3 separate regions of the Homo sapiens genome follow, and all the other regions are linked to region 1. Evidence: promoter capture Hi-C in 16 types of primary human blood cells and fetal thymus (Javierre and others, 2016). All regions are on one chromosome and are shown on one strand. The core of a region is centred on a gene start or on the middle of the fragment in contact, and the rest is flanking DNA. Distances in the headings are between cores, read along the strand shown. Region 1 holds the start of ERLIN1 (ER lipid raft associated 1). Region 2 overlaps SLC25A28 (solute carrier family 25 member 28). Region 3 has its middle 1.5 kb from the start of LZTS2.

Region 1 (2,700 bases), core at 185-2,684:
CAAATATCATTTATTTGGAACAGATAAGGTCCCAGACATTCCTAGATAATAAAAATCAAATGAATGATACAGGTAAGTGTATTTATTGAAGGGTGTGGGTAGAGTGGTCTGGGAAGTCTTGCTTTAATGAAGACGGATTGATTCTATTTACCTCTTCTTACTTCCACTACTAAGTAACCCTGGGCCTGCAGTTTCCTAACCACTTGACTTCCTTGCCAACAGTCTGTCTCCACTTTCAGCCGTTTTATAGATTCATTGGCCCTAAAGCACTGCTTTCCCATACTTCCCTACCCAAGAGGGCAGGGGTCCCCAAGCCCTGGGCCGCGGACCGGAACCAGACAGTGGCCTGTTAGGAACCAAGCCGGATAGCAGGAGGTGAGCGGCGGGCGAGTGAGCATTATCGCCTTGAGCTCTGCCTGCTGTCAGATTAGCGAGTGGCATCAGATTCTCATAGGCACGCGAACCCTATTGTGAACTGCACATGTGAGGTTTGCCGGCTCCCTGTGAGAATCTAATGCCTGATGATCTGAAGTGGAACAGTTTCATCCCCAACCCACACACACCCCCACCCCGTCCGCTGGGTTAGAGGACTTTACAACCCTAGTCCACCTTGTCCAGTTATAGTTCCACCTCTAGCCTTTCAAGGCTTAAACCATTAATGTCCTTAATTTCTCTTGTATTCATCTATCTCCCAACTATACCTTTTTCCTTCCCTTTTTTATTTTTGGCAATATGTGCCCATGGTTTTTTAATTTAAAACGAACAGAATATGTAGTGACGCCTACCATAGCACTCCTTCCCATCACACAAGCCTTCAAGGAAACTGAAGTACTTACTTTGGTCTCCCTGGAGGATTCCCTCCGCCTCCCGCCCCATGTGCTTAGCAATTCTGTTCCTGTAGTCTGGATGGCCTTCATAAAGCCCTCACTGGACCAGCATTCTGGCACATAATAGGAACACTTAAAAAACGAGAGAATGATGCCGTTATATCTAATATCTTCCTCTTCTGAACTTTCACAGCACTTTATTTGCAACAAGTTTAGTTGCTCCTGAAGGGCAGGATCTCTGCCGGAAGCAAGTGCGTGCCACACAGTGGGGCTCCGCATACACTGCAAAAGGACAAATAAACCGAACAGCTACCGTTTGAGAGTGAGCGAGTGGGTTCTCTGCACAAGAACAAACCAACCAGTCCCTTGTCCGAAAGGGCGTCTCCTTTTCTCTGCTTCGCTGCTCACTCCAGACTGCGGGCTGTCCTCTTCCGAAGCAGTTAACCAGCAGTGTACAGAAAGCGACTTGCCTCCAAAGGAGCCTGCGCGGCCCGCGGCTAGGAGAATTTTGTCCCATGCGCTCCCCGTCTCACTAGCCGCGGGCCGGGGCTACGCCGTGTGCGTCCCCGCGCAGCCGCAGTGCTGGGCGAGTGGGCGGGGCCGGCTGTTGGCGGCGGTTGGCTCGGCGCGGGAGTCGGCTGCACGTGCGGGCGGGGGCGATGCGTCACTGATCGGTGAGGCGCGGCCGAGGGGTCGGCTTTCCTCGCGAGCCTGCGGCTGGGCTTCTTCTCAGTTAGTGCCTTCCACCCGGGAGCGACCCTTGGGAGAGGGAGTTTCAGGAAGCTCACCGAGCAGGGGCGGCCCACTGGCCTCCGGGGGCGGAGGAGTTGGCAAGGGGTCAGCGGGCTCAGCCAGAAGGGAAGAATGAGGGGACAGGGGTACTGGACTCCCCGGCTCAGCCTGCGAGAGAGCGCCAAGTTTCCGGAGGGAGAGGGTAGAAACTGGAGGGGGTGGACCTGTCACTCACGGGACTGAGGGTCCTTTTCTCCCGCTCCCAGGAGGAACGAGAATGAATATGACTCAAGCCCGGGTTCTGGTGGCTGCAGTGGTGGGGTTGGTGGCTGTCCTGCTCTACGCCTCCATCCACAAGATTGAGGAGGGCCATCTGGCTGTGTACTACAGGTGAGCGGCATGTGCAGTCAGTTAGGGCTCTAGAGCAGATTAAAAGGGTACTCCAGAGTGGAGTCTGGGAAGTTGTTCCCTCTGCAACGTTCGGGGGCGCATGTCCCATCTCTAGGGAGAGCACGGGGGTCGAAGCGGGCTTTTGCGGAGCACCCTCCAGATGTTGGACAGTTTTAGTGCTATGTTCGTTTTGTTGCAGAGATTAAGTCTCCCTACGGTTATTCCTATACACAGCAAACTCAATTATTTGTAGAAAAATGAAGAAGGAAGAAAGGAAGTAGTCACTCTACCTCTAACTGAAGAGATGGATAAATTATAGTTCGTTCAACTGTACAGGCTTTAGTTTGCCGCTGTAGATGCTGTATGTTTATGGTTGTTTCTTAGACTTTTTCATTTAAAAGCTTCCAGTGTCTGGTTACGTCTTGTAACACCATGATGACTGTGATGGTGCTTATGTCCCTGGACCTCCAGGGACATAAGCACAACACTGATGGGCCATGCTCCTCCCTCCTTACTGTTGCTGTTCAAGTTGGGGACAGGAGTGGTGTGGGAGCTGTTGCTCTCTTGTTGAGCTCGCTTAGCTTTTCCTTCAGCCTAATTACCACAAGTTCCTTTTGATACAGACTAGTAAGAGAGGCCAGTTTGTGGAGAAATTGGGATAATGGTGTATTCAAAAAGAGCGTCAACTTTTTGCTTGTTTCCACTATCCCTCAAAACTGATATTTCTACTTTCAAATCCATCCTGAATCCT
Region 2 (2,700 bases), core at 132-2,631, 570 kb after region 1:
TCCTTGCTGTATCTTCCCTTACTGACGGGGCAGGAACCCGAATCTGGGATCTCTCAGCTAGATAAAGGACTTACATGTTAAATCTTAACACATGAGTGATTGGAAATCATTGTGCAGTGAGAATGCAGAATTCCAGACTGGAAGTAATGTGGGAAAGATCGTATTCAGGAATAGGTTTCAGTTTCTCTGTGAAGCAAGCATGATACCCCACCTATTTCCTGAACATGAAAATTGAGCTGGGATTAGGACTGTATGTTCAGGGAGCACATCAGCCTCCAAACAAGAGAGATGAAACTGATAGCATATTTCTTTGGCCACCTGAAGTTGGCAAAAAGGGAGAAGTTGCCTAGAAAGGAAGTGTGACGGTATTAGAAAGTAGATGTAAGTATGAAGAAAATGGAAAGAGATCAACAAGAGGACACGATTCTTGTGAAAGTAAAACTAATTGCATTCACAACCAAGCAGGATGATTTATGTGTACTGAAGTCAGGTCCTTCTGAAGAAAGCTGGGTGAAGAAAGAAACAGATTATTGTTCTTTACAGTTCTTATTCTTGTACATTAGTAAAGGTGCCAGCCATTAAAGGTGAGGACTGAATTGAGGGAGAGGTAAACTAGAGGGGACTGTTGATATGACAAAGACCGATGCCTCCTTTACATGTGAAGGGTAATAGTCAAACAGTGACCTGGCAGCTTTTTGATGTATGTTTTCTCTTCAAATCAGGAAAGTGTTATGTATTCAAAAGGAGGAGAGAATCAACTTGGGAAAGGCAAAGTAGATCCCTTTTACTTCCCTTTGGTTCCAGTACTGTTTCATGTTTTTCATTAGAATGTGGATAAGGAAATGGGGGGAGCGCTCATTAAGCTTTGTGAATGACAGCAAACTGGCAGGAGTATTTTAACACAAGGTAACTCCTAACAAGGGCCATATCCATTGAAAACGGGGTAAATGCACTTGACTAAAATGGACATTAGAATGTTAAATGTCCTTGTCAATTGGGAGAAATAGAAATAAACTGTAAAATCCATGAGAGAGAAGTAACAACATTGAAATGTAAAACAAGTATAAATAAAAAAGATGCACACATTATATGTATAGACTCTAGGTTGAATGACTTGTGAGTTAATAATGCCGTATATCCAAAAGTTAATATAATCTAGCTGCAGAGTAACCTCCCTAGACTTAGACTGTGAGTAGAGTGCAGGGTTTAGGATGCTGTTTTTCTGGATGAGTATTGAATGGAAAACAGATCAATGAAAACAGTGAAAATTATGTAATGGCTTGAAAAATACAGTGTAATAATTTGTCTTAGAAATATTACTGTAACTTATCAATTTAACCACTGTTCCATTATAACAGAACGGGAGGTTATCTCCTTACTCCATATATTTACATAGTGCTATTGTTGCTATAAACATTTTATAAATCCCTGTTAAAAATGCTTCTAGAATATTTGGGTGCATGTCCTTAAGGGAGGCAAATCTTTGCCCTGTGACAAGATGGAATTGATTTTGCAAGAACAAAGACTATTCAGAATCAAATATGGTGAATAAAGTGGGAGGTCAAAATGGGTAATACTGCTTGGCATCAAAATAAGGTGGGACTGGAAAGCAAGGAGACTGCTTTACTTCTGAGGCCTATAAACCCGTTGAGGAAACACCTCTGAAAGAGAAGTTCCAGAAAGGTTTTGCATAACCACAGCTTTGCTGGAATAAGTCAATTGTAGCCTTCCAAGGTAACTATTTTGAAGAACAGTTCTTACTCATTTACATAAACTTTGGAATTTTTGTTTTTTAAAAATTAGTCATACAACATAGCAGTTATGCCTGAAAGCCCTCTATTAAGGAAATAATGATTTGAGAAAAAAATGCTCAGGAGTTGTCAACAATACGAAAGCTTATTTTAGAAGGCTCATTTTCACTTGCACTTAATGCTGGGATTTAAATGACTTAGAGGGAAGAACTAGGTGAGGCCAGTATGATTTAGTGTCAGTGAGTATGTTAAACACTTTTGTGCAGGCATGAAAGTAAAATTCAAATCTCTTCCTTCAGAAAAGACTTCCCAGTTTGCTTGTCCCCAGCAGCTATCCTTCTTCTTTTAATAAGTGGATGAGTGGGGAGGAAAAGCAGCCCAGTCTTTAAGACTGGAGGCAGATATCCATGTTGTTGGAGCCTAAAGGGCAACCACAATGTTTGCAAATGAAAGCTGACATTGCCTTTTGACATGCAGGCCTGTCCATCCTCAGCTACTTATCAGGGTCAAGTTGACTTTAAATATCCTTGAGAGGGACCATGAGAAGTCAGTGTAGCCTTGCTGGATCATGGTTATTCAACCAGCTATTTCCATGGCTATAATGGAGAGGCTTGGGAGCCCAGATAAATCCCAGTTTCCTTTTCTGGGCCTCAAAGGCAAGCGCCAGACTTTATCTATGGGGACATTCTGCAACCCAAAACAGTCAGAACCCTTCTCAAAATCCTCTGGCGAAGTACCCACCTATCATCAAGCTGCTGTTGTTGGCTCTGAAGTGGTAAAGCAAATATCCACTTATATAATAAAGAGGGGAAGAGCAGAGGGAGATAAATCTCCAATTTCCAGATGTAAATGGTATCTATACATATTCACCTGTGAAAGATTAGGAAATGGAAACATTAGCTTATTTGATTTTCTTGCATCTAGTAATAAGTATTCAGTGATCTTGTGT
Region 3 (2,740 bases), core at 241-2,740, 810 kb before region 1:
CCTCCCTCCGACGCCCTGTGACTGCGTGTCTGGGGGCTCGGTTCGGCTCGACGCGGCGGCGGCGGTGGTCACCCTCAACCCCAGCCGGGGCCCCGGGGCCAGCGGCAGCTGGTCATTGTTCCAGCACAAAGGGCCACGGCGCGGCGGCGGCCGCCCCTCCCCCTCCGCTTCTCCAGGCGAAGCTTCCCTGACACGCTCTCAGCCTCAGAGTCCCAAGCGAGAGGCCGATGGCCGGCCGTCCCCCACTCTCCGGTGCCGGGACCCCGCGCCCTAGCCCGAGTAGGAGGCCGAGGCTCGATCCGCGCCTGCCCCACGGCGGGTTGGAGGCGGCAACCTGGGCTTCGCGGAGGCGACGCCACCTGGCGGCCGGCTCGGAGAACACACCCAGCCGCCCCCAACACGCGGGCCCTGCCCCACTCCCCGGCACGGTGCCCTTTTCCCCGCGAACCCAGGCCGGCCTCTGGCGCGACCGCGTGCTCCCCAGCCTCCCCTCGGGATCACTTGCTAAGAGAGAGGTCATTTATCGGAGAGGAGCGGCCCCTGGCTCCCCAACAATCACTGGGGCGAACCGGTGCAAGCCTACAGCCCAAACCTACACCAGCCTCACGGCAGACAATATTCCACTTCCTCAGGGTCAAGTAGTCTCACCTTCTCGCACACAATACAGTCTCCCTAACACCCACAAGACCTTTCCCACATGCAGCCGCAGTCTCAGCCGTCACGTGGGTCCGCGTTCCTTCTTTCCATAATCTTCCAGTCCACCTCACACACAGACACGGTGTCACAGGCCTGTTGGGCACAGGCTTCCACAACAATCCGCAGTCCTTCGCACCCAGTCACAGTCTCAAGTGCACTTAGTCTCCTAACCATCTTTCACGCATTGACAGCCTCTATTCACAGTCACTCACACAGACAACTTCTTACACGCCGTGCTTCACAAATATTCTACCGCACAGCCTTTCCCCTAGGGGTCTCGGTGACCCGGTCAGGTCAGCTGATGCCTGCATCCCTGGGCAAAGGCAGCCTTTCTCCCCTAACCACCCCCTCCCCCGCAGGGCCAAGGCCTGCCGGAGCTCGCCCGGGCCCCAGGAAGGAGCATCCCCCCCTTCCAGGCCACAGCCCTGGCCGGCTCTCAGCTCTATTTTTAGCTCCATGGACAGGGTTGTTTTTCTTTCTTTTTCCCTGGAAAGGGAAACACAGCCCAGCCACCCTGACTCACCCCAGACCCTCAGCCTCACAAGAACAGACTGAGCCCCTCTCCCCAGCAGAGCCCCCTCCTCTGGCCTTGCCCTGATCCCTGCCTCCTGGGGCACCGAGAGCCTCCTCCTCTTTCTGGCAGCCTGCCCAGCTCAGGCGGCAGCTGGGCTCAGCGTGTGTGTAGGGGTAGGGGGTGGGGCGAGGAGGAGGCATCGGGCTACTGCCCACTCCCTCATTCCCTGGGGGGAGGGGCTCGTCCTCCTTTTTCTAGGGGGGCAGGCCCACTCTGGTATTGAGGGAGCGTTTACACTCATGCATTTTCTGGGGGGAGGAGACTCCGACTCCCGCAAGGAGTGGAGGTGAGGGTAGGAAGGGGACCCGCAGGCGCTCAGGCAGCTGCTCTCTGGGCTGGCGGTAACAGGCGGGGGCAGCTGTCCACTGCCATCAAGGGCCTGTCTCCGAAACCTTCAGGGATGCAGACACCAAGAATGTGCTGGGGAGAAGGACGTCCAGGAGCCCGAGTTAACCCCAGCCCTGCCCAGCAGCCGGGCCCTCCTGCTCCGCCCCGGCTCCAGGGGGCGCTGTGCTCCGGTTCCCGGGAGAGGGCTTATCCCCGCTCCAGGCGGAGAATGGAACGCCGTCCGGCCTGGGACCAAGCAAACGCGCCCCGGACTAGGGTGGATTTCCGCCCCGTGGTTGGGTTGGGGGCACAGGCCACTGGTCTGCGGAGCTGTCACGTGCTCGGCGTCTGTTTACGTCTTGGTCTTCACCTGCGGGAGGCCAGGAAGCAGGAACCTCCGGGTGCGTCCCACCCGGCCCGCCCCCGTCGGTAGTCACAGGGCTGCCCCTTTCCCGCACCCAATACGCGACCGCAGAGTGCCCTGCCCGCTGTGGGTCCGCGCGGGCCGGCTGGCGCTGTCCCTGGGAGTGCAAGGGTGGCCAACTGGGCGCGTCCTTTCCGAGTGCATGTGTGTTCGCGTGTCCCAAGTGCGGGCGTGGGTCTGTGCACGCGTGTGTGGGGCCCGTCGGCGTGCGTTTTCGTGTCACTTCCCTGTTCGGACTCTTCGCGGGGACCCCACCAAGTGCGGACCCCCCTCCTCACCCCAACCCCTAGCTTCCCTAGAAGCGGAAAGTTCGTTCAGGAGCGGGGATGAGCGGGAGGCGGGAGTTCCTGCACCTCCGCCGCCCCACCACTCACCCAGCGCCACCTGCGCCTCGGCTCCAGTTCCGGCCCCGCTCCTGCTCCAGCGCGCCCACCTCCTCGCCGCGACAACGCCGGCTCCCTAGCCGGCTCCGAACTCTAGGTTCCGAACTCTGGGCTCCCGGCTCCCAGCTCCCGGCGCCCGCCTGGCCCGACCTGGTGGAGCGGGGCGGGGCGGGGCGGCTCAGGCCGCGCCCCCCACCCAGGGAGGGGAGTGGTCTGCCCCGCACTCCACCAGCAGCCGACCCAGTGCCCAGCCTAAGAGTGACTCGACGGTGGCCGAGGCTGCCCCTCTGGCCTCTGACTTCACAGCTTACTGGATTTGGTTTTTGACCTGGGGAA

The links. Contacts are between HindIII fragments. The CHiCAGO score rates a contact against its expected background, and 5 or more counts as called.
Region 2: a contact is called between a fragment that was not itself captured here and the fragment with the promoter of ERLIN1 in region 1, in 1 of 17 cell types (fetal thymus). The highest score is 5.3, in fetal thymus.
Region 3: a contact is called between a fragment that was not itself captured here and the fragment with the promoter of ERLIN1 in region 1, in 1 of 17 cell types (fetal thymus). The highest score is 5.0, in fetal thymus.

Annotation. Positions count from the first base shown.
Region 1 is chr10:100,184,763-100,187,462 of GRCh38, reverse strand. It overlaps ERLIN1 (ER lipid raft associated 1), which reads left to right and starts at 1,434. Exons shown (of 11, transcript NM_006459.4): 1 at 1,434-1,949. The coding sequence starts at 1,837. It also overlaps a transcript of CHUK not described here. RefSeq lists an enhancer at 1,067-1,216 and a silencer at 1,387-1,536. The HindIII fragment of the contact is 3,606 bases long and covers 1-2,352 here.
Region 2 is chr10:99,616,923-99,619,622 of GRCh38, reverse strand. The region is part of intron 1 of SLC25A28 (solute carrier family 25 member 28); the gene reads left to right. Among named protein-coding and RNA genes, the nearest start is that of SLC25A28, 2.2 kb to the left of the region's middle. The HindIII fragment of the contact is 1,032 bases long and covers 866-1,897 here.
Region 3 is chr10:100,996,890-100,999,629 of GRCh38, reverse strand. It overlaps a transcript of LZTS2 not described here. Among named protein-coding and RNA genes, the nearest start is that of LZTS2, 1.5 kb to the left of the region's middle. RefSeq lists silencers at 1-60, 161-570, 2,361-2,650 and an enhancer at 2,734-2,740. The HindIII fragment of the contact is 2,612 bases long and covers 185-2,740 here.